7 separate regions of the Homo sapiens genome follow, and regions 2, 3, 4, 5, 6 and 7 are each linked to region 1. The links are contacts of gene promoters, found by promoter capture Hi-C in blood cells and fetal thymus (Javierre and others, 2016). All regions are on one chromosome and are shown on one strand. Each heading gives the region's core, a stretch centred on a gene start or on the middle of the fragment in contact. The rest is flanking DNA. Distances are from core to core; before and after follow the strand shown.

Region 1 (4,344 bases), core at 475-2,974:
TATGCCAGTTTGAGTTGGGTTTCTATCACTTGAACAAAGGGTCCTAACTAATACAACACATTTATATCCATTAGTCATCATAATGAACCTCTAGTGTGTGCCCTAAAAGTAGCAGACATTGTACTGGGTACTCAGGATATAGAGATGATAATTATGGTATAGTTCCTGCTCTCATTGGAGTTTACATTCTTGAGCGAGGGCACGCTTGTAAACAACACCAGGATAATAGGTAAATGTTAAAATAAAATGTGTCATGTGGTTTATAAAAGACCTAAGACACAGCAGAGGAACCCTCAGGTAACTCTGCTTAGAAAGGAGGGAGAGCTTCAAAGAAGAGATGATGCTTGATCTGAGATTTAGATAATAAGTAGTAAGTTTGCCAGAAGGACAATAGTGGAGAAGAATATTGTTTAGAAGAAACAGCAAAAGAATGGTAACAATGGTACGGGAGAGTTTGTAGTGTTTTCGCCAGGTGGAGAGGAGGGAGGAATAGCTGCGTGCGAGGGAAAGCGGAGCACGGCAGGAGGTAGTTATTGTACAATATTGCAACTTATTTCACCTTCTTTGATAGGCTCTGCATTCCATGTGGGTAGGACCCTGTTTGTAACTAATCTCTCCTGGTCTCAGTTTCTTCCTGACTCTGATACATTCTCCACACCGCTGCCTATTATCTTCTCAAAACAAGTATGCCATGCCTCAATCCTGCTTTTAAAGTCTTCAAGGACTCTGATCATCAGTAGGGCACACAAGACTATTCACGACTGACCTAGGCGTATCTGACCACACTCGAGTCTACCATTCCACGACTCACACCAGTCCTTCCAGCCACACCAAACTACTTGCCGTTTCCAGAAAATTCCAAACAAAGAAAGTCCAAGCTAAGAAAACCCTCATTCCCATTCATCTTTGAAAGAACTAGTTCAAGTGTTCTATATAGTATTCGCTAGCTTTGCTTCTTCCCACCCCCCACCAAAGAAGCCGCCCTCTTCTGGTTTCCGTGGCAACTTACACATTCTTCTACCATAACACATAGAAAACTAAAATGGGTTCCTGTGTCTACTTCCCCCAGTGGAAAAATCAGACCCTCGGGGGCAAGAAGCCAAGCCCAGGACTTAGCCCAGTGCCTCGAAGGCTCAGTCCACACTCCAGACAACCTCTTCCTCCTCCACCTAAGCGGTATGCCCACACTCGCTGCGCCAAGCACACCCTAACTGCCTTCATCAAGATTTAACCGATTACACACCAAGCAATAGTTCCTATGTTCCTCTCACGAGTAAACACAATAAAGGCACAAAAGCTATGGGTATTGTATGTGCAGCTCGAATCACACACACACACGCCCCACACACACACTCCCAAAGGCAATTAATGACCGCAAGCACCGTCCACCGGACTGGCCAACACAAAATACGGGAGAAGGGCTGCCAAGGCTCAAACGAATTCCCGTCACAAAAACTTTTCTAGCCAAGGCCGGTTAATAAAATAGCCCAGTCGCGGGCACCAGCAGCCCAGAAGCTCGAGCTCTAGCCAATCTCTGCCCTGGACTGCGCAGAGAAGGGAAAGTAGGGAGACAAGCTCGGGGGCCCCGGCGACAGGTGAGTGGGGCTCAAGCCTCACCACGCGGCCGTTCTTCGGTGTACAAGTCGATGACGACGTCGCCTAAAGTGGTCTCCAGTAGAACCGCCATGGCGCCCGCTCCTCCTCCGCTACAAACCCCGGGAGGAGGGGGGTGACAGGCGCAGGCCGACGGCGTCGTCTACGCCACGCGTCACCCTCGGCGCGACCCCTTTTGCGTCATCTCGCCGGCGCCGCCCCCGGTTCCGAGCAGTTCCTTCCGGTCGGCGTGCGGGCGCCGGGCTGCCCAGCTGACTTACGGATCGGGTTGGTCCCGCCCCCGGCGCGGCCGTTTTGAAAATCCTGGTCCGCCCTTGGCGATTTTGGTGGAAGCCTGTCCCTCAGAACGGTCTCAGTATAGTGTTTTGTGCCCCGTTTGTGTCCGTCTCAAGAGCAGAGCGGCCCTCCGCGCGGCCCTTTTATCCACCAGGGGGCGCCCGCGGCGGGATCTTCTCTCCACCTATTTGGGCGGACTCCTCCGGGTTTCCTCGTCAGTCTCCTTTTCGCAAAACAACTTTGGGCCTCTACTAGGGGTTTCCGATTCTAAGAACTAACATTTTGTTTTGTTTTCTGTTTTGAGACAGGGTCTCGCTCTGTTGCCCAGGCTGGAGTGCAGTGGCGCGATGTCGGCTCACTGCAACCTCCACCTCCCGGGCTCCAGCGATTTTCCTGTCTCAGCCTCCCAAGTGACCACAGGCGCGCGCCACCACGCCCGGCTAATTTTGTTCTTTTATTTTTTGTAGAGATGGCGGTCGGGGGAGGTGGTCTCACTATGTTGCTCAGACTGGTCTCAAACTCCTGAGCTCAAGGAGTTCGAACTCTTCCCGCCTTGGCCTCCCGAAGTGCTGAGATTACTGGCGTGAGCCACTGCGCCTGGCCAAAACTAACATTTTGCCATGCAAGTTTATTCCCCAGACACTCTTCTGGGCAAGCCTGTCACTCTTTCTTATGACATTTTACACATAATCTCCAATAACTTCACATCTGACGAAAAGCCAAAGCTTTTTTTTTTTTTTTTTTTTTTGAGACGGAGTCTCGCTCTGTCGCCCAGTCTAGAGTGCAGTGGCGCGATCTCGGCTCACTGCAAGCTCCGCCTCCCGGGTTCACCCCATTCTCCTGCCTCCGCCTCCCGAGTTGCTGGGGCTACAGGTGTCCGCCATCACGCCCGGCTAATTTTTTGTGTTTTTAGTAGAGACCGGGTTTCACCGTGTTAGCCAGGATGGTCTCGACCTCCTGACCTCGTGGATCCGCCCGCCTCCGCCTCCCAAAGTGCTGGGATTACAGGCTTGAGCCACCGCACCTGGCGGAAAAGCCAGAGCTTTTATAATGATTTACAAGATCCTCTCCTACCCCATCCTACGCCATCTTCTTATTCCTCTGAAGCCACAGTAGACAGTTTGCTATTCCCTGAACACTGCTGACATACTCCTGCCCCATGGCCTTTTCACTTGCCTTGGTTGAGGGACCTCTTCCTCCAGTTATTTGTATGGCTCCCATTCACCTCCTTCAGGCGCTTTGGCGTCGGTCACCCTGTCAGTGAGGCCCTCCATGGCTGCCATAATTAAAATTAACCCCACAGACACTTCTTTTTCTCCATATAGCTTTTTCTCCAGAGTACATTTTACAATCTAACATGCTATTTACGAATTTGTTTGTTTGTTTATTGTTACTAGAATGTGTGTTCCAGGATATTCCATCTTGTCTGTTTTGTTTAAAGCTATATCCCTAATGCGTATGACAGCCTGGTACACAATGTGCAAATAAATGTTTGTTGAATGAATAAATATGGTTTTTCGGTTTGGGTTTTTTTTTTTTTTTTTGAGACGGAGTCTCGATCTGTTGCCCAGGCTTGAGTGCAGTGGTGCGATTTCAGGTCACTACAACCTCCGCCTCCTGGGTTCAAGCGATTCTCCTGCCTCAGCCTCCCCAGTAGCTGGGGCTACAGGTGCCCGCCACAGCGACTGCCACCACAATATTCATGGCTGGGCGTGGTGGCTCATGCCTGTAATCCCAGCACTTTGGGAGGCCGAGGTGGGCGGATCACCTGAGGTCAGGAATTTGAGACCAGCCGGGCCCATCATGGTGAAACCCCGTCTCTAATAAAAAATACAAAAAAAAAAAAAAAAACTAGCTGGGTGTGGTAGCGCATGCCTGTAATCCCAGCTACCCAGGAGGCTGAGGCAGGAGAACTGCTTGAACACGGAAGGTGGAGGTTGCAGTGAGCCGGGATTGCGCCACTGCACTCCAGCCTGGGTGACAGAGCGAGACTCCGTCTCGAGGAAAAAAAAAAAAAAGAAAGTGCTCCCATACCATGTTCCATTTATGCCTGATATGTGTTTAAGGGTTAAAAGTAAAGCCAACAAAGGGAATCCTAAGACTGTGAGTTCTGGGTCATTGTAAGGTTCCTCAGTGCTGTTGAACTGAGCAAACCATTTAGGACAGACCCAACAATTAGTCTTGTTGTAGAAATGGGCCATGGCGGATATTGTAGGAGCTAAAGGGTGTGACGTATTACTAAGTCCCATAAAAAATCCTAACAGACCTAGTGATAGTAAAACACTCATGTTTACTGTTGGTTAATAACTGTTATTCCTGCTGTAAGGATAGTAATTAAGCAAAATGCTACAGTAATTGAGATTCTGTTCGATATTACACCCTGAGGGTGCTATAGTATATAGTAATACTTGGCTTAAAAGGAGAGGTAGAAACGGCAAAAAGTATTTGGTGAGG
Region 2 (4,344 bases), core at 1,230-3,729, 240 kb before region 1:
ATCCTAACTTCTGACTGGGGATTTGCTTAAAGAAACTTTTCATGCTAAATGAATATGGGAGTTATTTTTCTTCCTTGACTGCACAACTATTAACCGTTTTATATATTTCATATATAGCAGAAAATGAAAGTATTAGAGTGGAAGAGAAAAACTGTGTTAAGAATCTGCCTGATTTTAGTAGAAAATTTTCATGGTATAGCATTGGCTTGAAATGTTTAATTCTGGTCATGAGACTATAGTAATTACATTAGTGTCTATTGGCCACTGGTCTTATCAGCAGCCGTTATAATTCACATCAGAGGCCGGGTGCAATGGCTCACGCCCGTAATCCCAGCACTTTGGGAGGCTGAGGCAGGCAGATCACTTGAGGCTGGGAGATCAAAACCAGCCTGGCCAACATGGTGAAACTCAGTCTCTACTAAAAACACAAAAATTAGCCAGGCGTGGTGGTGCAGGCCTGTAGTCCCAGCTACTCAGGACGCTGAGGCAAGAGAATCACTTGAACCCAGGAGGGGGAGGCTGCAGTGAGCTGAGATCGCTCTACTGCACTCCAGCCTGAGTGACAGAGAAAGACTCTGTGTCAAAAAATAATAACAATAATAATTCACATCAGAAAGAAAGTGAATACACCTGATAATGTGGTATAAATTAGGGCAAACCTATTCTATCCTGTACTCAAGTATTTATTAGATTAAAATGAAGCTAAATAAAGCTAGATAAACTAGATAAAGTTTTTACTACACCAGGGGCAGGGCTCACACCTGTAATCCCAACACTGGGAGGCGGGGGCAGGAGAATCACTTGAGACTAGGAGTTCGAGACTGGCCTGGGCAACATAGCACAGTTCTACAATTTTTTTTTTTTTTTAACTTAGCCGGCATGGCGGTTCGTACCTGTAGCCCCAGCTACTCTGGAGGTTGAAGCAGGAGGATCACTTGAGCCCAGGAATTTGAGGTTACAACGAGCTATGATTGTGCCACTGCACTCTGGGCAACAGAACTAGAACCTGTCTCTAAAAAAGAAATTTTTTTTTAAATGTTGCTAGATAAAAGCTTCTGGCTAAAGGTAGAAATATACCTTTTTTCTTCCTATTTTTGAAGAATTTTTGTCTCTATGTATTAACGATATAGGAACAGTATCTTGTATAGGACTAGGAAGATGGAAAACTAAAAATAGACCCCTGTAATCCTGGTGAATCCAGGTAAGGGATCCATCCTAAAATATCTATACATTGTTAACAGTTATTCTGATTTTAAAAAATTTTAAAGCTCTTGTTTGTATGTTTGATTCTAATAAAAGTAAGAATACAACAGAGTGGTTTTGATCAATAAGATGTGTTTGCTGAATTGTGGGTGCGAGGTTGACAGGGTCAGATAATTTTGGTTATAGAGCTGGTTCTGTCAATAACTCTGACCTTGAGCAAGTCACATCAGTTTCTGCACAGATAAAATAAGGGAGTTGGATGAAAAAGTCTTTAAAATCCCTTCCAGTTGTAAAATTACACGATTCTGTGAGGTATTTTAAAATTCAATATTGGACTGAAAATTACTCTTCTGGATCATTCTCTTTCCTTCAGCCTTTTCCTGATTCAGTGTTAATCCTTGAGCATAGCTTAGTGTTATGCAGCATAAACTTTTGTCAGTCATTGGTTAGGAACCATCTTTTACCCCACCTTCACCCTCTTCCCCAACACACACCTTCCACTGTGGTTAAAAGAAAGACCCAATGTCAGACTGAGGAAATTCATCCTAAGGAGGCAATGGCAGGGAAGAGTTGGCAGAAGGCCAGGAGAGCACTGGGGGGGTGAAAGGAGTCCATACCATTAGTTCTTAGCTTCAAGACCTAAATCATGGAATTAAAGTATCCTAGTCTCTGCATCCTGCTTCCTGGAAAGAGAGAATCCTGACTCAGCTACTCAAGCGTATTGGATTCAACTTGGCAAAAATGAACCTATATGCAAATTGAAATTGCTATATCAGGTGCTATGCCATTCAGAGCTTGGGGAGTCTTGCTGTGGGAGAAACCTGGTAGAATTTGGATGATGACAAGAGGCCATCTTCCTTCTCACACTTGGAATTATCATGAACTAGGCTAACAGGCAGAGGTCCACATTGGGATGGCTGGAGCCACATCTCTGTAAGAGAGTAGAAGCTCTTGGCAGGGTGGTCAGCAACCACTGAACATTACCAGGGACAAATCCCTTGCACTTAGGACAACCAAAACCAGAAGGCACAATGAGAAGCCAGCAGTTACCAAATTTAGCCTCAAGGGACATTTGAATTCTCTGTCCACCAGCAGACAGTAACAGGGGAACTACAACAATGCTAGAAGAAAGTTGGAAAGCCTGCCAGTTAAGCAGTGGGTGCTTGGGGCCATTATAAACTGGAGTATTAAGGGAATTATCATCTTACCTATGTATTGAGGTTGTTGAAGCCTTCATATATAGATTACATTTTCAACTATAAAAATTTCTTAAAGTGAAGGCCAGCAGGAAGTTAATAAGAGAATGAAATGGTCATTTCTGTACATTACACATATACATTCATCAAGAAAGCATAGTGGGGAGAAATATGAACCCATCCTTGTAGGTGCTAACTCAATGAATACCAGTTCACATTTTCAAATCTTTTTGTTTGTTTCATTTATGTAAAAGTTGTTTCATACTACAAGAACTGTATCTTCATTTGAATGTTTCCACATAACATTTCTTCTTTAGTCGTGTGCATTGTGACTAAGAGCTCCATGTATTTAACCACTACTTTTCAACAAACACTATTTACTGAACATGTTACAACCTTTAAAATCTTATTTTTATAATTTCAAAATAAATCACTTTTATAAAGCTCTTGAGTTAGTCACTAAGCTACTACTTTGGAAAATAGAAGTAAACTTTGAAAGATTATGGCACGTTTGCTCATTAAATTCTTATATCATTTAATACAAAACTATATATACAATTTGTAAAATAACTTCGGTGAAGAGTTATTATAAAATTAAGCCTATCTCCAAAAATCCAAGCAGAAAATCACTTCGGCAGATACAATGTCTTATCATTGTATATGTTAAAAATCTCTCAATCAGCTTCTACAAACTTACAGCCTGTTCTGTTTCATATAGGTATTCAAAAATATGTCCAAGATAGACTAAAGAGCAGACACTGTCATTTTCCCAAATGCTAGAAAATTATGAACATATATATGTATTTATATTTTGTATTTATACAAATATATAAGCATATAACATTACATATATGCACTTTAACCTGAAAAGGCATATATCGAAATGTTAACAGTGGGTAATTCTAGACTTAGACTTACTTATAAATTTTATCTTCTTTCAGTTCATTTTCCAGGTTTTCTAAAATATCTATGTATATTTTTGAAGCATAAATATTTATTGAAACCCTATATATGAATATTTTATGGCTTGGAAAGATGGCCCTAATAAAAGGTAGTTAATTGGTAGTGCACTTCCAACTACAGGGAGTATAATTGCCCAAAGGCCTCTGCTGCTGTTCTCCGAAAATCTGTCTCTGCATTCATGCCAAGGCCACAGTGATTGAACCTGATAGAGTTACTATTGCAGTCTCCTTCATGGGAATTGTAGACTCTTCTGATGATGGAGGAGTCCACGTCTCCCAGCTCTTCTACTAAAGTACTCCTCAAGGTCTTGCTGAACTTTCTCTGCACTACATGGCAGTCTAGGATATTACCACTCACCTTCCCATCTTTCTTTGCTTCACTTGGGGTCATATCTATCTATCTATCTCCCAGCCTCTCCCCACTTTCTTTCACAGATTCATATCTTATCAGCAGGGTCCCCAACTCCCAGGCCACGGGCCAGTACTGGTCTGGAGGCTGTTAGGAACTGGGCCACACAGCAGGAAGTGAGCAGCAGGTGAGCCAGTGAAGCTTCATCTGTATTTACAGCCATTCTCCATTGCTCCTATTACCTCCTGAGCTCTGCCTCCTGTCAGGTCAGTGGTAGCATTAAATTCTTATAGGAGCACGAACCCTATTGTGAACTGCGCATGCAGGGGATCTAGGTTGTGTGCTCCTTATGAGAATCTAATGCCTTATGATCTGTCACTATCTCCCATCAACCCCAGACAGGATTATCTAGGGTTGATGAGAGACTGTCTACTTACAGAAAAACAAGCTAAGGGCTCCCATTGATTCTACATTATGGTGAGATGTATAATTATTTCATTATATATTACAATGCAATAATAATAGAAATAAATGTAATGCTCTTGTGGCCTTGGCACAATAAATGCAATGCTTTTGAATCATCCCAAAACCATCCTTTCCACTGTCCCATAGTCTGTGGAAAAACTGTCTTCCA
Region 3 (4,344 bases), core at 1,168-3,667, 230 kb after region 1:
CCTTCCTTCCTTCTTTCCTTCTTTTCTTCTTTTTTTTTTTTTTTTTTTCCACAAAGTCTCACTCTGTTGCCCAGGCTGGAGTGCAGTGGGGTGATCTTGGCTTACTGCAACCTCTGCCTCCCGGATTCAAGTGATTCTCCTGCCTCAGCCTCTCAGATAGCTGGGATTACAGATATACACCACCAAGCCTGGCTAATTTTTGTATTTTTAGTAGAGACAGGGTTTCGTCACGTTGGCCAGGCTGGTCTTGAACTCCTGGCCTCAAGTGATCTGCCTGACTCGGCCTCCCAAAGTGCTGGGATTACAAGCTTGAGCCACTGTGTCTGGCGTGTTATCAATTTCTTTATTCCTTTTGCTTAATTTTTTTTAACATTTTAATTTTTTATTATTATTATTTTTGAGATGGAGTCTCTCTCTGTCGCCCAGGCTGGAGTGCAGTGGCACAGTCTCAGCTTAGTGAAACTTTTGCCTCCCAGGTTCAAGCAGTTCTCCTGCTTCAGCCTCCTGAGTAGCTAGGATTACAAGTGTGCACCACCACACCCGGCTAATTTTTGTATTTTTAGTAGAGATGGGATTTCACCGTGTTGGCCAGGCTGGTCTCAAACTCCTGACCTCAAGCGATCCACCCTCCTTGGCCTCCCAAAGTGCTGGGATTACAGGCCTGAGCCACTGCGTCTAGCCCTTAATTTTTTAGTTTTTGTTTTTTTTAAGACAGGGTGTTGCTTTGTTGCCCAGGCTGGAGTACAGAAGCATGATGATGGCCCACTGCAGCCGAGACCTGCTGAGCTTAAAAGATCCTCCCACCTTAGCCTCCTGAGTAGCTGGGACTATAGGCACATACCACCACCCTTTACTTTTTAAAAACATTTTCTGTAGAGATGAGGACTCACTGTGTTGCCCAAGCTAGTTCTGAACCCTGGAGCTCAAGCGATCCTCCCACCTCAGCCTCCCAAAGTGTTAGCATTACAGGTGTGAGCCACTGGGCCGGGCTTTCTTTTTTCTTTAAACCATAGATTAGGAATGACTTTTTTGTATATTACCTATTCAATAAGTGATTAAAAAGAAAAGTTATAGTCTTAAGATAATCTGCAAACAGTTTGAACTACTACTGAAGGGGGAATTAATGAATTTTATAAGTATAATGGTAGAAAAATTTATTCTTTTTCTTGAAGGTAGAACGTAATATAGCCCCACCCCACCCCCCCACTCTGGTGCGGGGCCCGGGTTGAGAGAGAATATTAACTGCTTATCCCTCCTCTATGCGCAGAGAGGCTTATCTGTGTTCCATCGTTTTACATTCCTTGAGGCACAGCGAGTTCTTGCTTCCCTCCCTAGCTCGGCTGTAAAGTCACAAAGTTGATAAGCAATTGCTACAAAAGCATGTATTCCCAAGGATGTAAAACATATGGTGTAACAAATGTAAAAGAGTAATTAACTGCCTTTGATCTCGCTTCTGCAAGTACCCTTCCTGCAGCACGTAACTCCCTAACTCCTGCCACAAACTGCTTAAAAGGTGATTGATCCCTTTGTTCAGGGATCAGACTTTCTGGACCCTAGTCCGACTGCGCCAGTGATCACCTTAATAATTAGACACTCTCCTGAACTGTGCTCAGTCTCTCCCGTCTCTGATTTGTCCCACAACACTACCTAAATGAAAGATTTATATAGAAGCATGAATGTGACTGGGCGGGGTGGCTCATGCCTGTAACCCTAGCACTTTGGGAGGCCGAGGCAGGTGGGTCACCTGAGGTCAGGAGTTCGAGACCAGCCTGGCCAACATGGCAATATCCCGTCTCTACTAAAAATACAAAAATTAGCCACGTGTGGTGGCAGGAGCCTATAATCCCAGCTACTCAGGAGCCTGAGACAAGAGAATCACTTGGACCTGGGGAGGGTGCAGGTTGCAGTGAGCCAAGATCGCACCACTTCACTCCAGCCTGGGCAAAAGATCAAAACTCTGACTCAAAAAAAAAAAAGAAGTATGAATGCTAAAAGTCATTTTGGAGAACCAGTATCTAGCATGGTTGGGAAATTGACTGGAGTGGTATGCTTTCAGGTATTAAGGGAAATACTTTGTGATTTTTTTCTTTCCCCTGAAGTTTGGTCTGGGTGTCCAGTTCATTGCTGAACAAAGCATAGCAGTTACTTCATGGCAAAAGATGCATTTTAAAACAACAATACAAAACAGCTTTATTAAGATACAATTCTTGGCTAGGTACAGTACCTTGAGCCTGTAATTCCAGCACTTTGGGAGGCCGAGGCCAGAGGATCACTTGAGCCCAGGAGTTTGAGACCAGCCTGGGCAACATGGTGAGATCCCATCTCTACAAAAAATAAAAAACATTTAGCTGGGCGTGATAGTACGTGCCTGTGGTCCCAGCTATTCTGCAGACTGAGGTGGAAGGATTGCTTGAGCCTGGGAGATGGAGGCTGCAGTGAGTCATGATAACACCACTACACCCCTGCCTGAGTGACAGATCAAGACCCTGTCTCAGAAAAAAAAAAAAAAGGTATAATTCTTATACTGTAGAATTCATCCCTTTAAAGTGTAGAATTCTGCAGTTTTTAGTTTATTCAGAGTTACACAAACATCAGCACTCTCTAATATGAGGTTTTCATCACTGCAGAAAGAAACCTTCCTTATACCCATTAGCAGTCAGATCCCAACCCCTGCTCTGCTCAGGTCCTGGCAACTACTAATCTATTATTTGTTTCTATAGATTTGCCTATTCTAGACATTTCATATAAATAGAATCATATAATATGTTGCCTTTTATGACTGACTTTTTAAATTTAGCATAATGTTTTCAAGATTGATCCCTGTTGTAGTGTGAATCAGTACTTCTGTCCTTTTTATGACTGAATAATATCCGATTGTATGGATATACAACATTTATCTATTAACTGTTGAGGGACATTTGGATTGTTTCCAGTGTTTGGCTATTCTAAATAATGCTGCAGTGAACATTTGTGTACACATTTTTGTGTGTTTTCATTTCTCTCGAGTATTTACCTAGGAGTGGAATTACCAGATCATATATGAAAACTCTATGTTTAACATTTTGTGGAATGGCCAAACCGTTTTTCAAAGCAGCTGCACCATTTTACAGTCCCACTAGCAATGTATGAGGGTTCCAGTTTCTCTGCTTCCTTGTTAACATTTGTTATTTTCTTTTTTTAAAAGAATTTTATCCATCCTAGTGACTATGAAGTGGTGTCTCATTGTGGTTTTGATTTGCATTTCCCTAATGATGAATGATGTTGAGCGTCTTTTCATGTGCGTTTTGGCCATTTCTGTATCTTCTTTGGAGAAACATTTATTCAGTCTCTTACCCCTTTCTTGTTTTTTTTTTTTTGTTTTTTTTTTTTAGATAATTAAAACTTTTTTTTTTTTTCTGAGACAGAGTCTCGCTCTGTCACCCGGGCTGGAGTGCAGTGGTGCCATCTCAGCTCACTGCAACCTCCGCCTCCCAGGTTCAAGCAATTCTCCTGCCTCAGCCTCCTGAGTAGCTAGGATTATAGGCATGCACCACCACACCTGGCTAATTTTTGTATTTTTAGTAGAGACAAGGTTTCACCGTGTTGGCCAGGCTGGTCTTGAACTCCTGACCTCGTGATCCGCCCACCTCAGCCTCCCAAAGTGTTGGGATTACAGGCGTGAGCCACGGCGCCCGGCCAAAAAATTTTTTTTAAAGACAGGGTCTTGCTATGTCGCCCAGGCTGGTCTCAAACTCCTGAGCTCAAGCAATCCTCCTGCCTGTGCCTCTCAAAGTGCTGGGATTACAAGCACGAGCCACCATAACTGGCCTCTTGACCATTTCTTAATTGGGTTATTTGTCTTTTCATTGTTAAAACTGTATTTTATATAAATGCATTAAAATTTTTAATTGTGTTAAAATACACATAACATAAAATTTACCATCTTAACCATTTTAAGTGTACCATTTAGTAGTGTTAAGTACATTTACATTGTTATGCAATCAGTCTTCAGAACACTTTTCATCTTGCAAAACTAACACTCTATACTCATTCAATAACAATTTCCCACTTTTCTCATTCTTTCTTTACCTCAGCCCCTGGCAACCACCATTCTATTTTCTGTTTCTATGAATTTGGTTCCTCTAGGTACATCATATAAGTGGAATCATAAAGTGTTTGTCTTTTTGTGACTGGCTTATTTCACTTAGCATATGTCATAGCTTATGTCAGAATTTTCTCCCAAAGCTGATGCATTTTTAATTACTTATATTTTCTGAGCCATCTATGACTGTTAATAAGGAAAACTTGTGTATCTATGTATGTATATAGTCACATGAAACATCTATATGAATGTTTATATATATG
Region 4 (4,344 bases), core at 975-3,474, 220 kb before region 1:
TGACTTTCCATTCCTCATCAATGAGAGAAAAATACTTGCTAATGCAGATGAAAACTTGAACTCAGCAACTTGACCTTGCAGAACATTGTCCTCAGGCCAAGCAACTTTTGTTTAGTCAGAGAAATCAACAAAAGCAGTAATTCTGATATGAACTGGGGCCATAGGGGTAGAAGAGACTTTACCTGGTTTTAAACTGTGGAAAATATTACTTTTTTTTTTTTTTTTTTGGAGTGCAGTGACACAATCATAGCTCGCTGCAATCTCAAACTCCTGGGCACAAGCCTTTCTCCCACCTCAGCCTCCTGAATAGCTGGGACTACAAGTGTGCGCAACTACATCCAGCTGATTTCTAAAAATTTTTTATAGAGACAGGATCTCCCTTTGTTGCCCAGGCTAGGAAAATACTGCTTTTGGTTTTTAGTTGATCTCTTTGTTAATTTTTCAGCTTCTCAGCCCCCACCTCTTTAACTAAATATCTTAATTTTACCGTGTTGGGAGTCAATGAAGTATAATAAAAGTTCTGGGCTTTAAAACCAGATGAGCCCAAGTTCAAACCTGAGTTCTGTTGCTGACTATAGCTATGTGATTTTAGACATCATTCACACACTCTGAGCCAAGGAGTTTTCTTCAGAAAAATGGATATAGTAATACCTACCTTACATAGAACAGGTGAATTCTTGTTCTAGTTACATTAGGATATGTAGCTTAAGTAATTGGAAGTAATTTTACATTTGGAATTTTGCTTCGTTAGGTTTTTTCTTCAAGGTATCTGTCCACTTCATTTTTCCTCAACAAATAGAATGAAAAAAGAATTTCTGTACTTTTTAATTTACTGTAACTCCTTAGACCAAGATGAAACAAACAAAACATCATCATTATTTTTTTAACTACAAAATAAACATACGGATTGTTAATTCTTTGTATTTTTCTTGCCTGTTCCTGTGGGAAAAGCTGCATTTTCAATTTGAAATTAGTCCACAAATCTATAATATAGTTCTTCTTTAGGAAAAGCATTAGAAAATTGGCATGGATAAGATTTTGAAAACACCTCAAATATGAGGTTTAATATAATACTACAAAACTTGTGCCACTTTATCTGTGTAAAATGATCTTTATACTTTTCTGTTATGTTTATGTTTTAAGACAGTGTCTCGCTATGTTGCCCAGGCTGGAATGCAGTGGCACAACCACAGCTCACTGAAGTCTTGACCTCCCAGGCTCAAGTGATCCTCCCACCTCAGCCTTCCAAGTAGCTGGGATTACAGATGCGTACCACAACGCTCAGCTTACTTTTTATTTTTTGTAGAGAAGGGTTCTTCCTATTTTGCTTAGGCTGGTCTTGAGCAGCTAGGTTCAAGGAATCATCTTGCCTTGGCCTCCCACCTAAGTGTTGGGATTATAGGTGTGAGCTACCACACCCAGCCTGTTTTAACAGCAGCTATAGCAATGGTTTTATATTTTGTTAATAAGTTATCTGTATTGCTATAGTACCAAGAAGAGTAAACAAATTGTATTATTATGTTAAAATATTGGTTATACAAATAGCATTCAATACTAATTATTACAGCAAAATAGTCTACAACAGTTACACTGGTTTACTCAGTAGATTAAGACAAAAATTTTTAGCCTGGGTGACAAAGCAAGACCCCATCTCAAAAAAAAAAAAAAAAAAAGACAGTTTAAAAAAGTCATTGCATTTTATTAAGTTCATAGGCTTAGCACATTCTGTAGTGTATATACATGAAATCTCTTAGCCTAGAGGTAATAAATATGCTTTAATCTTACACGTGTGCAGTTTTTATGCAATCTGTAAAATAAAACCAGAAGCACAAATAGGAGATTGAACCATTAATCATTGGATAAATGACATGTTATCATGGCAGAAAGAATTATAAGGTACATGTTGGTCTTTTCAGCCTTGTGTTTTTGTTATTATTTTTTTTTTTTTGAGACGGGGTCTTGCTCTTTTGTCCAGGCTAGAGTGCAATGTTGCAATCTCAGCTCACTGCAACCTTTGCCTCCTGGGTTCAAGCAATTCTCCTGCCTCAGCGTCCTGAGTAGCTGGGATTACAGGCGCCCACCACCCTGCCTGGCTAATTTTTGTATTTTTAGTAAAGACAGGGTTTCACCATGTTGGCCAGGCTGGTCTCGAACTCCTGACCTCAGGTGATCCACCCATCCTCAGCCTTGCTTTTTTAAGCGGTTTTTAGCTTTTGCTGTTGGAAAAGTCAACATGTAGAGTGAAGTATTATGCACAGAAATTTGATTTTTGTTTTGATCAAATGCCATTATTTAGAAAACCTAACATTTTCACATCCTTTTGGATAGGTCACTTAATATCAGTAATAATTAGGTCAGCAAATTAATTTTGCTTTTTTGTAGTTTGCAAGAGTTTATCTTATGTTCAGCAAAGCTAATAATTGCATAAAAATTTAAGTGGGAGAAACTGGCCTTTAAATATTAATATTCAGATCTGTGGTACAAAGCCTATTATACAGATATTTGCTTCCACATTCTTGATATCCTATGGACTATTTTGTCTTTTACACTTTTCTTTTATACTAGCATTTCCTGATTGTAGGTTTCTATTAGGGTTGTCATCATTATAAAATATAGGCAAGATGGTCGTTTTTTAAAAATTTAAGACAGATTAAATGTTCCATTTAATTACTGAGCACAAATTATGTCATAGTTGCCTGGTTAATTTTATTGATTTATTATTTATTTGTTTAGAAATGGGGGTTTCGTTATGTTGCCTAGGCTGGTCTCGATTTCTAGGCCCAAGCCATCCTCTTGCCTCAGCTTCCCAAGTAGCTAGGACTACGTATGGCATGCCACTGAGCCTGGCAACTTGGTTAATTTTTAAAAGGCAATTAGTGACCTGATAAACATGAGCGTCTGCTGTTCAGAAGTTAAGCAGCTGTATGTTGCAGATGTATGTAGGTGTCACAGTTAAGTAGTTACTAGAATTGTGAGAAAATGTGCTCAAGGAACCATCCAAGGGATCCGTGTCAAATAAAAGTTGCTAGAAATACAGATATTTTATAATTTGCATTGAGAGTGACTTACTGTTTACCCCATGATTAGCATGTACCTGAATTGTACTTGACTAAAGTACTGCTTGCCAACTCTTAGGATGATTTTATAGGAAATGGAAAAATAAGCACATGGAAATGGGGATTTCAGAAGAAAATTCCCACTTCCACATATGGCGATTCTGCTTTTTTGCATATAAAAGTGCATTGACACGTGTTGAATGCCCTTTGAGATTGTCTAGCTAAGGTAATTGTTTGGCCTGCATGAGACATACTCATTCTCTTCATGAGATTTTTCCCCTCATGAACATTGCCATACATTTAAAGGATGACAGAGCCATTGCTGTAATTTTGCAAGTGGAACAAGAAGTAAGTGCTCTTGTTGAAGGTAATTAGTTCATTACCTAATTGAAGTTAGTTCATTACCTAGTTGAAGTAATTAGGTAGAAGATTGAAGTGGTCATCTTAACCAAACCAAGCTATCTATCAGTATATCAACTTTTATAGAATATCACATGATCGAAAGAACAGAAACTCCATAGAGCGTATTTCATATGTCTTCTATGACATGCTTGTGCAGAATAGCTGGCTAACCCAAGAAATCTTGCCTTACTCATTCTTCTATTGTGTCTCATCTCTACATTCTGTTTGTTTTGTTTGAGAGGGAGTCTGCTCTGTCCCTCAGGCTGGAGTGCAGTGGTGCAGTCTCAGCTCAGTGCAACCTCCACCTCCCAGGTTCAAGCAATTCTCCTGCCTCAGCCTCCCAAGTAGCTGGGACTGTTGGTGCGTGCCACCACGCCTGGCTAATTTTTTGTGTGTTTAGTAGAGACAGGGTTTCACCGTGTTAGCCAGGATGGTCTCAATCTCCTGACCTTGTGATTGGCCCGCCTTGACCTACCAAAGTGCTGGGATTACAGGCACGAGCCACCGCACCCGGCCTCTACATTCTTTATTATTCAAACTACCTTACTTATCCAATAGTTTTGAGTTCCTGCTGTGTGCCTGTACTTTGCTAGGTCAAAGGGGTGGACAGATATGTAAGATACAGTTCTTGTCCTTAAGAGACATATATACAAACACATGTGATATACTGTGACAAATGCTGTGACGGGGTTAAACATAAAATACTTTAGGAATCCATAGGAGGTAGTGTCTCCTATGGATAAGGATTAGGCAGTATCTCCTATTCAGTAAGGGATGAAAGGATATGACAGGGAAATCTTCCTAGGAAAGGTGACACTTAATCTGAGTGTATATCAGATAGGCAAGGAAGAGAGTTACAGGCTGCAGATAGGTCTTTTTAGATAGA
Region 5 (4,344 bases), core at 1,279-3,778, 200 kb before region 1:
ATCTCATGGACAGTACAGCAGGGTGGGTAGTGATATTCCATTTAATAAAAGAGATTTCTGCAGTTTAATTTCAAAGCCATACTGAAATCAGATCTGAACTTAGACTTCTCTCTCACAGAATTCCTTGTCCTGCAATGTGCCATCACAATAGATGGAAAATTTACATTTTTCACAAAAACTACTTTTACTCTGTTTTGCTGTTTATATTGCTAGTTACTGGAAATGCAGGGAATTCAGTTTTTGGATCTTCGTCTTCACTACTTTTTTTTGTCCTATTACAGTTTTCACAACATCTATGATAATTTGAGAGCAGCAGAAAATTCTATTTATTTTGACTCCTGTGGGATTAGTTTCTTAGGGAAATGCCTAAGGGTACCAGCCTACCAAGCATAAGGACATCATTTCCAGGTTTTAATAATCAAAATAGTACAACATTCTACTATTCATAATATCCTATTATTTCTGTAACCTTCGTAGTTGCAAGTTTGTTTTTGGTTTTTGTTTTATATGGCCCTAACAAAAATTAAAAAAAAAAAAATCATTGAATCTATTTTGGTAATGGAAAAAAAGATTTTCCAGTGTGGTTAAGAACCACATCTTATGAGCTGTTCTTTGCCTCCCTCTTTAAGAATTACCAAGTATTTTTAAAAATTGGAACTTAACATTCAATTCATTGCTTGGATATATCTAAAGCATTTCTTAAGAAACCCCTGGGAATGGATCATAGGAAATTAGGGGAGCGTTTAGAAGATGATTGGAAATACGATAGTGAAAGGGAAGAGAAAAATGACCTGAAAATGAGGACTTTACATTTCCAATTTTGGATTTTGTTGTTGTTTTTCTCTTTCTGTTAGAGTTACTCTGTGGTCTCCTGTTGGACAGTCTGTTGCTAAAAGCCATTAGAGATTTCATAAAAACTACTGTTTTGAGTTGCTGGAACTGAGATTCCAGAATAGTGTTGGGTAGGTTAAAAGAATGGCTTAACCAAAGTAAACAGCATCCTTTGGTTACTTGCAATTTAAGAGACCCATTTTCCCTTCAGAATATTTTATGTGAGAGACTTTGGGGACTACCTTACTGCTATTACATCTCATAATGTTATCTGGTCACATTTCTTGTTCTGCCTACCTCTAGTTTACTCTAGTTTCTCTTCTGCTTTCAAGGCTCCAGACCCAGTTCCTGGACCTGCCCTGGAAAAGAAGTATCCCGTAGAGATGAGCTCACTGCAGTTACTTAATTAACAATTTGTAAGCTGCAAAAATGGCAATGGGCCAACCAAGAACAGCTACAATTTGAATTTTTCTATTTCCAGGTATGCTAAAGTCCATGGCACCAGTCAAGCTTAGCCTGTGTAACTGCCTTATTATTAAATCTATAGTAACTAAAACTTGACTTTCAAAACTTATAGTCATCTTGCTTTAAAGTATAGTAACACTAACATCTAGGTAACATGCAGCTAGTATTGAGTTTAACATACCTTTTGCCTGAATATTTCTAATTTAACTTGTTTGCTAGTAGTAGCAAACTAATGCAAAAACATAAGAAAAATAAATGTGAAATGCTATTGAGTGAAGCCGTATAAACATACCAAAAAAAATTGAAAAACAAACATCAACAACAACAAAACTGCCTTTCTTTAAAAGGTTTACATTGAGTACAAGCAGTATAGGGAATTCAGTTAATGAAACTACTTCCCTCTTCCTGAGATCCTCAACTATTCTACCCTACTAATGCCTTTACCTAAAAAGTTGATATATTCATACATGGCGAAACCCCGCCTCCACTAAAAATGCAAAAAAATTAGGCAGGCTTGGTGGCGTGCACCTGTAGTCCCAGCTGCTTGGGAGCCTGAAGCACGAGAATCACTTGAACTGAGGGAGTCGGAGGTTGCAGTGAACTGAGATTGCACCACTGCACTCCAGCCTGAGCAACAGAGTGAGACTCCGTCTCAAAAAAAAAAAAAAAGGTTAATATATTCTTCAGTAATTGGAAATTAGACATATTATTTCTGGATAGAACCGAGCAATGTATTATATAGTACTTTACCTGAAGAATTTAGTTATATTTTTAAACTAAGTGTATAACTAATATTTGCTAATATTTTACTTGATTACCCAAAAGAAACCAGCCAAGGAAGTTACAAATAGTCAGAGTCATCCTGGAGTGTAACAACAAAACCAAAAACTGAGGTTTCCTAATGCCTTAGATTTTAACCAAGAGAAAGCTACTCATGAATGGTTAGAGGGCCAAGATCAATTAGCTTTTAAGGATATTTATTCCTTTTACCAATATATATAGATGTAGAAACAGAATTAATCCCTGAAAGATGAGTTTATTTACTAAATGGGTAGATAATCATACATGTCTTTTGATTTTAGTTCAGTTTATCTAGGTTAGAGATTACCGAAAACTGAAGAGGAATTTTGTATCCCAATTGTGAATTTAAAAGGCAATCCTAATATTCTAGCATGTGCTTAACTCCTTCCTTACATCCCTTCCTGCAGTATTAATGCATAATGAATTTAATGTCTGGCAATTTAGTCAGCATTAGGTCACTGATTATGTGCCACATTATTTGTTTGGTGTTTAAAGAATTATGTGTCACTGAGTGTTGAATTAGAGCTGGAAAGGGAGCTACTAGTTAGGGTCATTACCACTGTTAGGTGAATTGAAGTAGAAATTGAAGAAGGAATTACATATGAATATCAAGTCTTAGTTATTTTCAGTGGTGCTATTAATGGTGAAATTTTTCTCCATTATTCAATGTAAATAGACACAGCTGGGATGTAGAAATCAATAAACCTTGTTTTAGTGAGCTTACAGACAAGTAATATGAAAGTATCGTAATAGAGATGCATACAACATACTTAAGAGTACTGGAGAGAATCAGCTTTGTGGAGAAGGTAATGTTTCTGCTGAACCATGAAGGATAAATAGAATTCTTTAGAGAAAGCAGCAAGAGTATTTCTAAGTTATGGAGATGAAAGTATTTAATATATTATAGAAATTGTGAGCAGTCCAGTGTGCATAGAGAATAGTTGGATAGGGAGGGGTGTGATGGGAGATGGAGCTATGTCATGTTTTTTTGAATGTCAGATGAAGGAGTTTGGACTTTAATAGGCAATGGGAATCCGTTGAAGATTTCTCAGAACTGGTATGTGTTAAGTCAGTGAATCTTTTGAAAAGCTGACTACCGTAGAGTGAGGGTTGAATTGATGAAGTTAGAGGTTAGGCAGTAGTAATGCCTAATAAGGGACATTTACTCTGTCAGGCATTGTGCAAAGAGTTTTACCTGCAGTTTCTCACTTAATCCTCACTACTGGAATATTGTAAAAAGTAACTGAAATAATACATGTTTAAGGCATTTAGCACAGGACTTGGCTCATAGTAAGTGTAGAACCAAAGTGATTATACTCTAGGCTCAGAGAAAACAGCGTGTCTTGTCCACCTTTGTATATGATAGTACAATAACTTTCCATAAAGGTATTGTGTTTATTGGGAGACTCTTATATTTAATAGTAACAATAAGCCTACTTCTTTTTCTACCACCCCTTACCTCTTTCCTTTAATTAATTAAACCATCTCATTGGTAGATGTGTAATACTTAGTCAGTTTGAGTGCTTGCATAATAAATAGTTCACCTTGAGTTAGCCTTTAGGTAAAAAAAAAAGTCACCTGGCTTCTTTGTTTTAACCAAGGATTACAAATTATGACACTAAGCTTAGACATGGTTAATCATGGATGGACCTACATATATAAATTCATAAGTAACATTTAAGTTAGAAAGTAACTGTAAATCTCATCTATCAAGCATCCTGATAATTGGTCAGTGCTGCAGCTGTAAACTGCACATCCATAACAGTTTCAGCATAGACAACACAGGCTTTGAGTTATTTGAAGGTACCTGTGGTTGGCTAATACAGGTACCTTCAAATAACTCATTCTGTTCTATTCTTACTCTATCTACATATCAGAATACAAGTAATATTATAGAGAAATATATAAGGAATAACTTTATAGTAATGCATGAATATGTGTTATTATAAAAATTGGGACAGATGACTAAACCTCCTTGGAATACCTTCCATCCATGTGTCCTTCTACTCAGCCCCCTCTCCAGAATAATTAGTGTGTGTATACTTTCAGAATCTTTCCTATACAATCATATAAAAATATCTGTTTAAAATACATCTATTTTCAGCATCATAGGAAAGGACAAAACATTTTTTAAAAGCTTTTTAATATAATGCATCTTTTGTGTGTCTTTATTTTTACACAAAAGGTGTTATACATGGAATCTGCATCTTGATTTTTTTTCAGTCAATAAGGTCTTATAGGTCCATA
Region 6 (4,344 bases), core at 1,086-3,585, 190 kb after region 1:
AAAAAAAAGTACACATAACAGTATTCATTAAAAAGTTTTACCTTGGTGAAAGAGTGACGACTTTTCAGGTACATCTGTGGAAGCATCCCAGTGCCAGAGGGATCCATCTTCAGAGCAGGTAAAAAGATGTTCTGGGTTGGATGGGTGAAAGTGAACTTCCCACACTAAGAGACAAGAATCAATAAGCTCATTCCTGTGCAGATTCGCTGAACAAACAACATTAAACCCCCATCTCTAGGCATCATCTTCCATTATCCTCCATCACATACCTTCGAGCCTCAAGTCTGTCCTAAAAATTAAAGGCTTCAGAATTAAAGAAAAGACATAATGTAACTTTCCAATGGCTATAACACATAGAAAGGAAAAAGAACACTTTAGGAGGCTAAGGCGGGTGGATCACCTGAGGTCAGGACCAGCCTGGGCAACATGGTGAAACACCATCTCTACTAAAAATACAAAAGTTAGCCAGGCGTGGTGGCGCGTGCTTGTAGTCCCAGCTACTTAGGAGGCTGAGACAGGAAAATCACTTGAACCTGGGAGGCGGAGGTTGCAGTGAGCCGAGCTCGCACCACTGCACTCCAGCCTGGGCGACAAAGTGAGACACTGTCTGAGAAAAAAAAAAAAAAAAGAAAAGAAAGGAAAAAGAAGCCAACTAAATTTGCGTACTGGGCAAGGAAATAAATGAAAATAGTAGCCAGGCACAGTGGCTCATGCTTGTAATCCTAACACTTTGGGAGGCCAAGGTGGGTGGATCACTTGAGGTCAGGAGTTCAAGACCAGCCTGGCCAACGTGGTGAAACTCCGTCTCTACTAAAAATACTAAAAATTAGCCAGGCATGGTGGTGGGTGCCTATAATCCCAGCTACTCAGGAGGCTGAGGCAGGAGAATCGCTTGAACCCGGGAGGCAGAGGTTGCAATGAGCCAACATCACACCATTGCACTCCAGTCTGGGCAACAAGAGTGAGACTCTGTCTCAAGGAAAAAAAAAAATGTCCAGGCGCAGTGGCTCATGCCTGTAATCCTACCACTTTGGGAGGCCGAGGTGAGTGGATCACCTGAGATCTGGAGTTCAAGACCAGCTAACCAACATGGTGAAACCCCATCTCTACCAAAAATACAAAAAATTAGCCCGGCGTGGTGGCAGGTGCCTGTAATCCCAGCTACTTGGGAGGGTGAGGTAGGAGAATTGCTTGAACCCGGGAGGCAAGGTTGCAGTGAGCTGAGATTGCATCACTGCACTCCAGCCTGGGCAAAAAGAGCAAAACTACGTCTCAAAAAAAAGAAAAGAAAATCATTGCTAAAACATTTAACCCTATTACTTTATGAAAAAGCTTATTTTATTTTATTTTTATTTTTTTAAATAGAGACAGGGTTTTGCTATGTTGTCTACCTTGGTCTTCTACTCCTGGCGTCAAGCAATCCTCCTGCCTCAGCCTCCCAAAAGTGCTGGAATTATAGGTGTGTGCCCAGCTAGGAATGACTGTCTTTTACGGAAAAGTTTTTTTTTAAATTGGTAAGTTGTCTTATTTTTCAATTCCTGTGTCATTAATATATGAAGATTATATTATTGGAAAAACTGAGAAAGATCCTAATGAAATATAAAAATGAATTTCTAAGAGGCAATATCCAATATTGGTTAATGCCAAGATTCTGAATACTTCTGGTCTTTATCACAGAAATAGCAACTGACTTCTACCAAACCAAAATTTGGAAATGTTCCAAGAATTTGGATCCAGTCTCAGATGGAGGGCTTTTTATTTTTTATTTGTTGATTATTTATCAAGAAAAACTATTTCTTAGCCCACATATGTATGCTTCATACTTTAGGAACATAGGTCAGTGACAAACTTCTACATAATTCAACTCAAAGAAATTCTCTCTCTCTTTTTGAAACAGGGTCTTGCTCTGGCGCCCAGGCTGGAGTGCAGAATGGCATGGTCATGGCTCACTGCAGCCTTGACCTCCAAGGCTTAAGCAATCCGCCTATCTCAGCCTCCTGAGTAGCTAGGACTACAGGTATGTATCACCATACCTGGCTAACTTTTGTATTTTTAACAGACATGGGGTTTCTCCATGTTGCCCAGGCTGGTCTCAAACAACTGGGCTCAAGAGATCTGTTTGCCTTGGACTCCCAAAGTGCTAAAATTACAGGCATGAACTACCGTGCCCAGCCCCAAAGAAATTCTATATATTCCAAAATCACTTTCAATTCTGAAAGATACCAGTCTTCCTCATTTCCTCAAAATCTGTTTTGTTTTGTTTTTTTTTTGAGACGGAGTTTCACTCTTGTTGCCCAGGCTGGAGTGCAATGGTGCGATCTTGGCTCACCACAACCTCTGCCTCCCAGGTTCAAGTGACTGTCCTGCCTCTGCCTCCCTAGTAGCTGGGATTACAGGCATGTGCCACCACGCCCGGCTAATTTTGTATTTTTAGTAGCGACGGGCTTTCTCCATGTTGGTCAGGCTGGTCTCGAACTCCTGACCTCAGGTGATCCACCTGCCTCGGCCTCCCAAAGTGCTGGGATTACAAGCATAAGCCACCGCCCCCGGCCATCATTTCCTCAAAATCTTTTATGGAATCATAATTTCTATAGAAATCTAATAATAAAAAAAATTAGCTAGGTGTAGTGGCATATACCTGTAGTCCCAGCTACTCAGAAGGGCAAGGCAAGAGGATCACTTGACCCCAGGAGGTTGAGGCTTAAGTGAGGTACCATGCCACTGCACTCCAGCCTGGGCAACATATTGAGACCCTGTCTCTACAAAAAATAAAAAATTAGCCGGGTGTAGTAGGGGTGCGTGCCTGTAGCCTCAGCTACTCGGGAGGCTGAGGTGGGAGGACTGATTGAGCCAGGGAGGCAAGGCTGAGGCTGCAGTGGGCTGTGATCATGCCACTGCATTCCAACCTGGGTGAGAGAGACCCCATTTTTAAAAAAATATATAGGGCCGGGCGCAGTGGCTCACACCTGTAATCCCAGCACTTTGGGATGCCAAGGCAGGCAGATAACCTGAGGTCAGGAGTTTGAGACCAGCCTGGCCAACATGGTGAAACCCCATTCCTACTAAAAATACAAAAATTAGCTAGGCATGGTGGCAAATGCCTTTAGTCCCAGCTACTAGGGAGGCTGAGGCAGAAGAATGGCTTGAACCCAGGAGGCAGAGGTTTCAGTGAACCGCGATTGTGCCACTGCACTCCAGCCTGGGCGACAGAACAAGACTCTGTCTCAAAAAAAAAAAAAAAAAAGGATAATCCATTCTGGCATGATATCAAAGACAGAGTGAGAAAATGAAAAATTTCTGTCCGGCTAAATCATCTCCACCAGAATCAAAAGAAAAAAAAAAGCTTATAAATCTATTGTTCATGTTAAAAAAAATGATGTGATGCAACAATAAATTGAGGAGCACAACATTTATTAACAAATATGACAGCCTGCATTTGCATGGGAAAAGGGCATTCTTGCACACTTCACTATGGCATATAAAATGGTATGATTTTTATCACTTTTCAGGGAGTGGGGTCTCACTATATTGTCCAGGCTGGAGTGCATAGGTGCAATCATAATGCACTACAGCCTTGAATTCCTGGACTCAAGCAATCCTCCTGCCTCGGCCTCCTGAGAAGCTGGTGCATGCCACTCACCTGGATTAAACTAGTATTATTAACTTTTTAAAGAGGTTATGTTGCCTAAGCTGGCCTCAAACTCTCAGGCTCAAGCAATCTTCCTGCCTCAGGCTCCTGAGTAGGAGGAGCCTGGAACTACAGGCATGTGCCAATGTGCCTGGCTTAAACTGGTATTATTTTTGTGTAGAAAAATCTGTCAATGCGCTATGCAAAATGTTTGGCCTAGCAATTCTACTTCTAAAAAATTATCCTAAGAAAATAAGTACATAAGGCTGGGCATGGGCATAATGGCTATGCCCAGCACTTTGGGAGAATCGTGTAAGTCCAGGAGTTCAAGGCTGCAATGAGCTATGATCACACCACTACTGCACTCTGGCCTAGGCAACAGAGAGAGACCCTGTCTCCAAAAAAAAAAAAAAAAAAAAAACACACACAGAGATAAATATCTAAGGATTCTAACTACAGTTTTGGATATAAGAATTAAACCTGTGGTTGATGTGGTGGCTCATAACTCATACCTGTAATCTCAGCACTTCCTGAGGATCACTTGAGCCCAGGAGTTTGAGACCAGCCTGGGCAATAAAGTGAAACCCCATATCTACAAAAAAAAAAACAAACAACAACAAAAAATCAGCTAGGCATGGTGACACACACCTATAGTCCTATCTACTTGGGAGGCTGATGCGGGAGGATCACCTGAGCCCTGGAAGTCAAGGCTGTAG
Region 7 (4,344 bases), core at 747-3,246, 150 kb after region 1:
AGGTTTTAGTATGTTCCCATTTTTTGCTTAAACAACAAGAATCAAAATACGCATAGATAAACCTATTCTGGTTTCCCACAGGAAAAAAGACTGGGAAACAAAATACACCAAAATATTGTTATTAACAGCGATGTTTGTATTTGCTTTCTAAATATTCTATGTTGATCATATTTTACTCCCATAATATGAAAAAAATATATAAAAAGAAAAAAGAGTAGTCTGAATGATGGGATTTGGAGGGAAAATAGACATATTTCAGCTGCAGTATTACCAATCAAATAGATCTCAATCTAGACTGCTGCTTACCAGAATTATCTATTAACTTTTAAATGTGAGGACCCCATCCTTAAATTCATTTTGGTATAACATTATAATGTTATCTTAATTTGAGACTTTCATTTACTGGGATGCTTTTACAATTTCTAAGAAGGAAGATTTGATAGACTTCAGTATTTTTAAACTACACAGTAAAAGAAGAGATGAGAAAATAAAATATTTGATTAATCACCTGGTTTCATGCTGGCATTAATAGGTCTGGCAGCTGCTGCAGCCATCTGCTCTCGTCGAGGATCTTGGTAACTCATTTTACTAATGAATTCAATTGCTGCTTCTATACTTCTGTTGTTAGTTTTCTGAAGAGCTTGTATAACCATATCCTGATATGAATTGAAGTTTAAAAAAAAAGAAACAAAATTTAAATCTTACAATAATACAAGGGAAAGAACACTATGAGTTCCACTAGAGAAATCCATAATTATGAAGAACACAGCCCCAAACCATGATATTAATGTTCTGTTTGTAGCTACTAAAAACCCCGCACAAAATCTCAACTAAAACAGGCAGGGCGCAGTGGCTCAAGCCACTTTGGGAGGCCGAGGTGGTCAGATCACTTAAGACCAGGAGTTCAAGACCAGCCTGACCAACATGGTAAAAAACCCAGTCTCTGCAAAAAAACACAAAAATTAGCTGGGTGTGCTGGCGCACGCTTGTAATTCCAGCTACTCAGGAGGCTGAGACATGAGAATTGTTTGAACCTGGGAGGTGGATGTTGCAGCAAGCTGAGATGACCACTGTATTCCAGCCTGGGCAACAGAGCGAGATGCTGTCTTGGAAAAAAAAAAAAAAAAGAAAGAAAACAAAACCCTCAAATCTTCCAAATGTTTCTTTAGCATTTTCATCTTTATGTAACATATTTCTATTTCCTCCTAGGATTAACGTCTTTTTTTAAAGTATTTTTAAATTTTTATTTTTTTCAACACACCATTGTTGGCTTGAATTAGGATTAACAACTTCTCTGGGTACAATCATAGCAACATGATTCTGATTACTTCTAATTCTTTTTACTTTTTTTTTTCTGAGATGGAGTTTCGCTCTTGTTGCTCAAGTTGGAGTGCAATGGTGCGATCTTGGCTCACTAGCAACTTCTACCTCCTGGGCTCAAGCGATTCTCCTGCCTCAGCCTCCCAAGTAGCTGGGATTACAGGCACGCTCTACCAGGCCTGGCTTATTTTTTATACTTTTAGTAGAGACAGCATTTTACCATGTTGGCCAGGCTGGTCTCAAACTCCTGACCTCAGGTGATCCACCCACCTCGGCCTCCCAAAGTGCTGGGATTACAGGTGTGAGCCACTGCTCCCAGCTTCCTAATTCTTATATAAACAATCAGAGACTATCAGATTGTTAAAAAGGTAGCAATCAAAATATCAGAAACAACTCTTTTGGGCTGAGTGCGGTGGCTCACACCTGTAATCCCAGCACTCTGGGAGGCCGAGGCGGATAGATCACCTGAGGTCAGGAGCTCCAGACCAGCCTGACCAACATGGTAAAACCCCATCTCTACTAAAAATATAAAATTGTCTGGGTGTAGTGGTACGTGTCTATAATCCCAGCTGTTTGGGAGGCTGAGGCAGGAGAACCCAGGAGGTGGAGGTTGCAGTGAGTACAGATCACGTCACTACACTCCAGCCTGGGCAACAAGAGTAAAACTCCGTCTTAAAAAAAAAAAAAAAAAAAAAAAAAAAGAACTACTTTTTTATATGAGTATCTTGGTATTTTATTAAGCACATTGCCATTGTGCATAGTAGTTCTGGCTCTTATCCTCTTAGAGATTACGTTTTCAGAGAACTATATTACAGGAATACAAATATAAGACAAAAGAAGATACTTAGACTATATATGATTATGTGATAAAGACTTTAGGAGGCTATATAGTACGATGAAAAAAACAGAGGATTTGGAATCAGACAGATGTGAGTTTGAGTTCCAGCAGCTCTGTAAAGTAGAGTGACACCTGGCAAATTATTTCACATTTCAGAGGCTCAGTGTCTTTGCCTGTAATAGGCTCATAGGGTTGATGTGAGGATTAAATAAGAAAACATGTAAACTACCAAGCACAGTGCCTGGAGCTAAAATGTTGGCTGCTCTCTTCCACTCCTTGTACTTTATGTTTTATATAAACATAAATCACTCACTATCATGCAGAAAGTATGTTGACATGCATTTTTCAAGAGGGAGGCAACTACTTACTTGTCCTAGAGGATTCAGTATTTCAAACGACATTTTTAAATGAGAAATGGCTTAGTAAGACTAATGGGTGAACAGGCTACTGACAGATGATCCTCCTATATGAAATGATAAGAGAAGAATGTGAGACCAACCAAAGAAAGGATGTGGTAAGAACTTATTGCCTACCTAAGGTCATTTCTCCCTTTCTTAGAAAAAGTTACTGATTTTGTTGGAAGCAGCAAGGGTTGCCATAAAAATTTTGCCATGCCTGCCTTATCTAGGTACTGGTCCTTCCTCGACCCCGTTTCCTAGGCAACAGATATGACACCTGTGCTAGAGCATGTTGCCACCAAGAAGTAAAATTTAAGATATTCATAAGAGTCCTAGGCTCTGAAATCTTTAAGACGTTGAGCTAATCGTAATTAACTGAATCACTATCTTGCTAAAAGCATTATTATTTAGATTTTTGTTAAAACCAAATATGTGTAAATGTAAAATAATAGAAATCACCCATTAAAATTCATCAGGGAGTGTTTAATTTTAAAACTGGTTAAGTCAAGTGAACTCTATATGTATTTATGCTATTATTACACAGCAGTAACATCTCCATTGGTAAGAAAATTAGCACCCACTACCCTTTTCCAATATTGTGGGAATCATTTTTCTTTTCTTTTTTTTGTTTTTGAGATGGAGACTCGCTGTCGCCTGGGGTTGGAGTGCAGTGGCGTGATCTCAGCTCACGACAATCTCCACCTCCCGGGTTCAAGCAGTTCTCCTGCCTCAGCCTCCAGAGAAGCTGGCATTTACAGGCGCCCAAAAACACGCCTGGCTAATTTATATTTTTTAGTAAATATATAAAAGGTTTTGCCTTGTTGGCCAGGTTGGTCTCGAACTCCTGACCTCAAGTGATCTACCCACCTTGGCCTCCTGAAGTGCTGGCATTACCGGTGTGAGCCACCACACCCGGCCCATATTCTTGTTAAATGCACTAGAATTTCAGCCTTGTGATTCTGGTGATTACTATGCTAACCTTTATATTTTAATATTTATTGCTATGTTTTACAATATTTCTTATAGCTGTAAAAACATCAACCAAGCATTCATTAAGTGGAGGTGTTAGTGCCAGTGTGAAAAAGAACGCTCAAATCAGTAACTTTGGAATGGGAGTCTTTTTTTTTTTTTTTCCCATTAGAGACAGGGTCTTGCTCTGTTGCCCAGGCTGGAGTGCAGTGGTGCAACCACAACTCATTGCGACCCAATCTCCTGGGTTTGAGTGATCCTCCCACCTCACCCTCCTAAGTGGTTGGGGACTACAAGAACATGCCACCACACCTGGCTGATTTTTAACTTTTTTTTGTAGAGACAGGGTCTCACTATGTTGCCCAGGCTGGACTTGAACTCCTGGCCTCAAGCAATCCTCCTGCTTTGGCATCCCAGAGCACTGGAATTACAAGAGTGAACCATCACACCCAGCCAGAAGTCTTTTTTTTTTTTTTTTGAGGCAGAGTCTCACTCTGTCGCCCAGGCTGGAGTACAATGGTGTGATCTCGGCCCACTGCAACCTCCGCCGCCCAGGTTCAAGTGATGATTCTCCTACCTCAGCCACCCAAGTAGCTGGGACTACAAGCATGTGCCACTAGGCCCAGCTAATGTTTTTTTTTTCATATATTTTGTAGAGTCGGAGTTTCACCATATTGGCCAGGCTGGTCTCGAACACCTGGCCTCAAGTGATCCACCCGCCTTGGCCTCCCAAAGTGCTAGGATACAGGCGTGAGCCACCATGCCTAGCCAGAAGTCTTATGTGATAAGAAAATATGTCCACATAATTATGCCTTTGTT

Evidence for each region. Contacts are between HindIII fragments. The CHiCAGO score rates a contact against its expected background, and 5 or more counts as called.
Region 2: a fragment that was not itself captured here is called in contact with the fragment with the promoter of PPIL4 in region 1 in 1 of 17 cell types (neutrophils); the score reaches 5.1 in neutrophils.
Region 3: a fragment that was not itself captured here is called in contact with the fragment with the promoter of PPIL4 in region 1 in 2 of 17 cell types (neutrophils and non-activated CD4 T cells); the score reaches 7.7 in neutrophils.
Region 4: a contact is called between a fragment that was not itself captured here and the fragment with the promoter of PPIL4 in region 1, in 2 of 17 cell types (neutrophils and naive CD4 T cells). The highest score is 7.8, in neutrophils.
Region 5: a contact is called between a fragment that was not itself captured here and the fragment with the promoter of PPIL4 in region 1, in 2 of 17 cell types (naive CD4 T cells and non-activated CD4 T cells). The highest score is 8.4, in naive CD4 T cells.
Region 6: a fragment that was not itself captured here is called in contact with the fragment with the promoter of PPIL4 in region 1 in 2 of 17 cell types (neutrophils and naive CD4 T cells); the score reaches 7.4 in neutrophils.
Region 7: a contact is called between a fragment that was not itself captured here and the fragment with the promoter of PPIL4 in region 1, in 3 of 17 cell types (naive CD4 T cells, non-activated CD4 T cells and total CD4 T cells). The highest score is 8.3, in naive CD4 T cells.

What each region holds. Positions count from the first base shown.
Region 1 is chr6:149,544,319-149,548,662 of GRCh38, forward strand. PPIL4 (peptidylprolyl isomerase like 4) reads right to left here and starts at 1,725. Exons shown (of 13, transcript NM_139126.4): 1 at 1,618-1,725. The coding sequence starts at 1,687. RefSeq lists enhancers at 1,615-1,914, 2,618-3,294. The HindIII fragment of the contact is 2,652 bases long and covers 1-2,613 here.
Region 2 is chr6:149,298,990-149,303,333 of GRCh38, forward strand. It overlaps a transcript of TAB2 not described here. Among named protein-coding and RNA genes, the nearest start is that of TAB2, 17 kb to the right of the region's middle. The HindIII fragment of the contact is 2,859 bases long and covers 1,051-3,909 here.
Region 3 is chr6:149,777,848-149,782,191 of GRCh38, forward strand. All of the region lies in intron 3 of PCMT1 (protein-L-isoaspartate (D-aspartate) O-methyltransferase), which reads left to right. Among named protein-coding and RNA genes, the nearest start is that of PCMT1, 30 kb to the left of the region's middle. The HindIII fragment of the contact is 4,222 bases long and covers 307-4,344 here.
Region 4 is chr6:149,324,618-149,328,961 of GRCh38, forward strand. All of the region lies in intron 1 of TAB2 (TGF-beta activated kinase 1 (MAP3K7) binding protein 2), which reads left to right. Among named protein-coding and RNA genes, the nearest start is that of TAB2, 9.1 kb to the left of the region's middle. The HindIII fragment of the contact is 9,509 bases long and covers 1-4,344 here.
Region 5 is chr6:149,341,522-149,345,865 of GRCh38, forward strand. All of the region lies in intron 1 of TAB2 (TGF-beta activated kinase 1 (MAP3K7) binding protein 2), which reads left to right. Among named protein-coding and RNA genes, the nearest start is that of TAB2, 26 kb to the left of the region's middle. The HindIII fragment of the contact is 2,379 bases long and covers 1,340-3,718 here.
Region 6 is chr6:149,731,572-149,735,915 of GRCh38, forward strand. NUP43 (nucleoporin 43) reads right to left here. Exons shown (of 8, transcript NM_198887.3): 7 at 42-164. Among named protein-coding and RNA genes, the nearest start is that of NUP43, 13 kb to the right of the region's middle. The HindIII fragment of the contact is 2,011 bases long and covers 1,331-3,341 here.
Region 7 is chr6:149,694,566-149,698,909 of GRCh38, forward strand. It overlaps LATS1 (large tumor suppressor kinase 1), which reads right to left. Exons shown (of 8, transcript NM_004690.4): 3 at 509-656. Among named protein-coding and RNA genes, the nearest start is that of LATS1, 21 kb to the right of the region's middle. The HindIII fragment of the contact is 9,773 bases long and covers 1-4,344 here.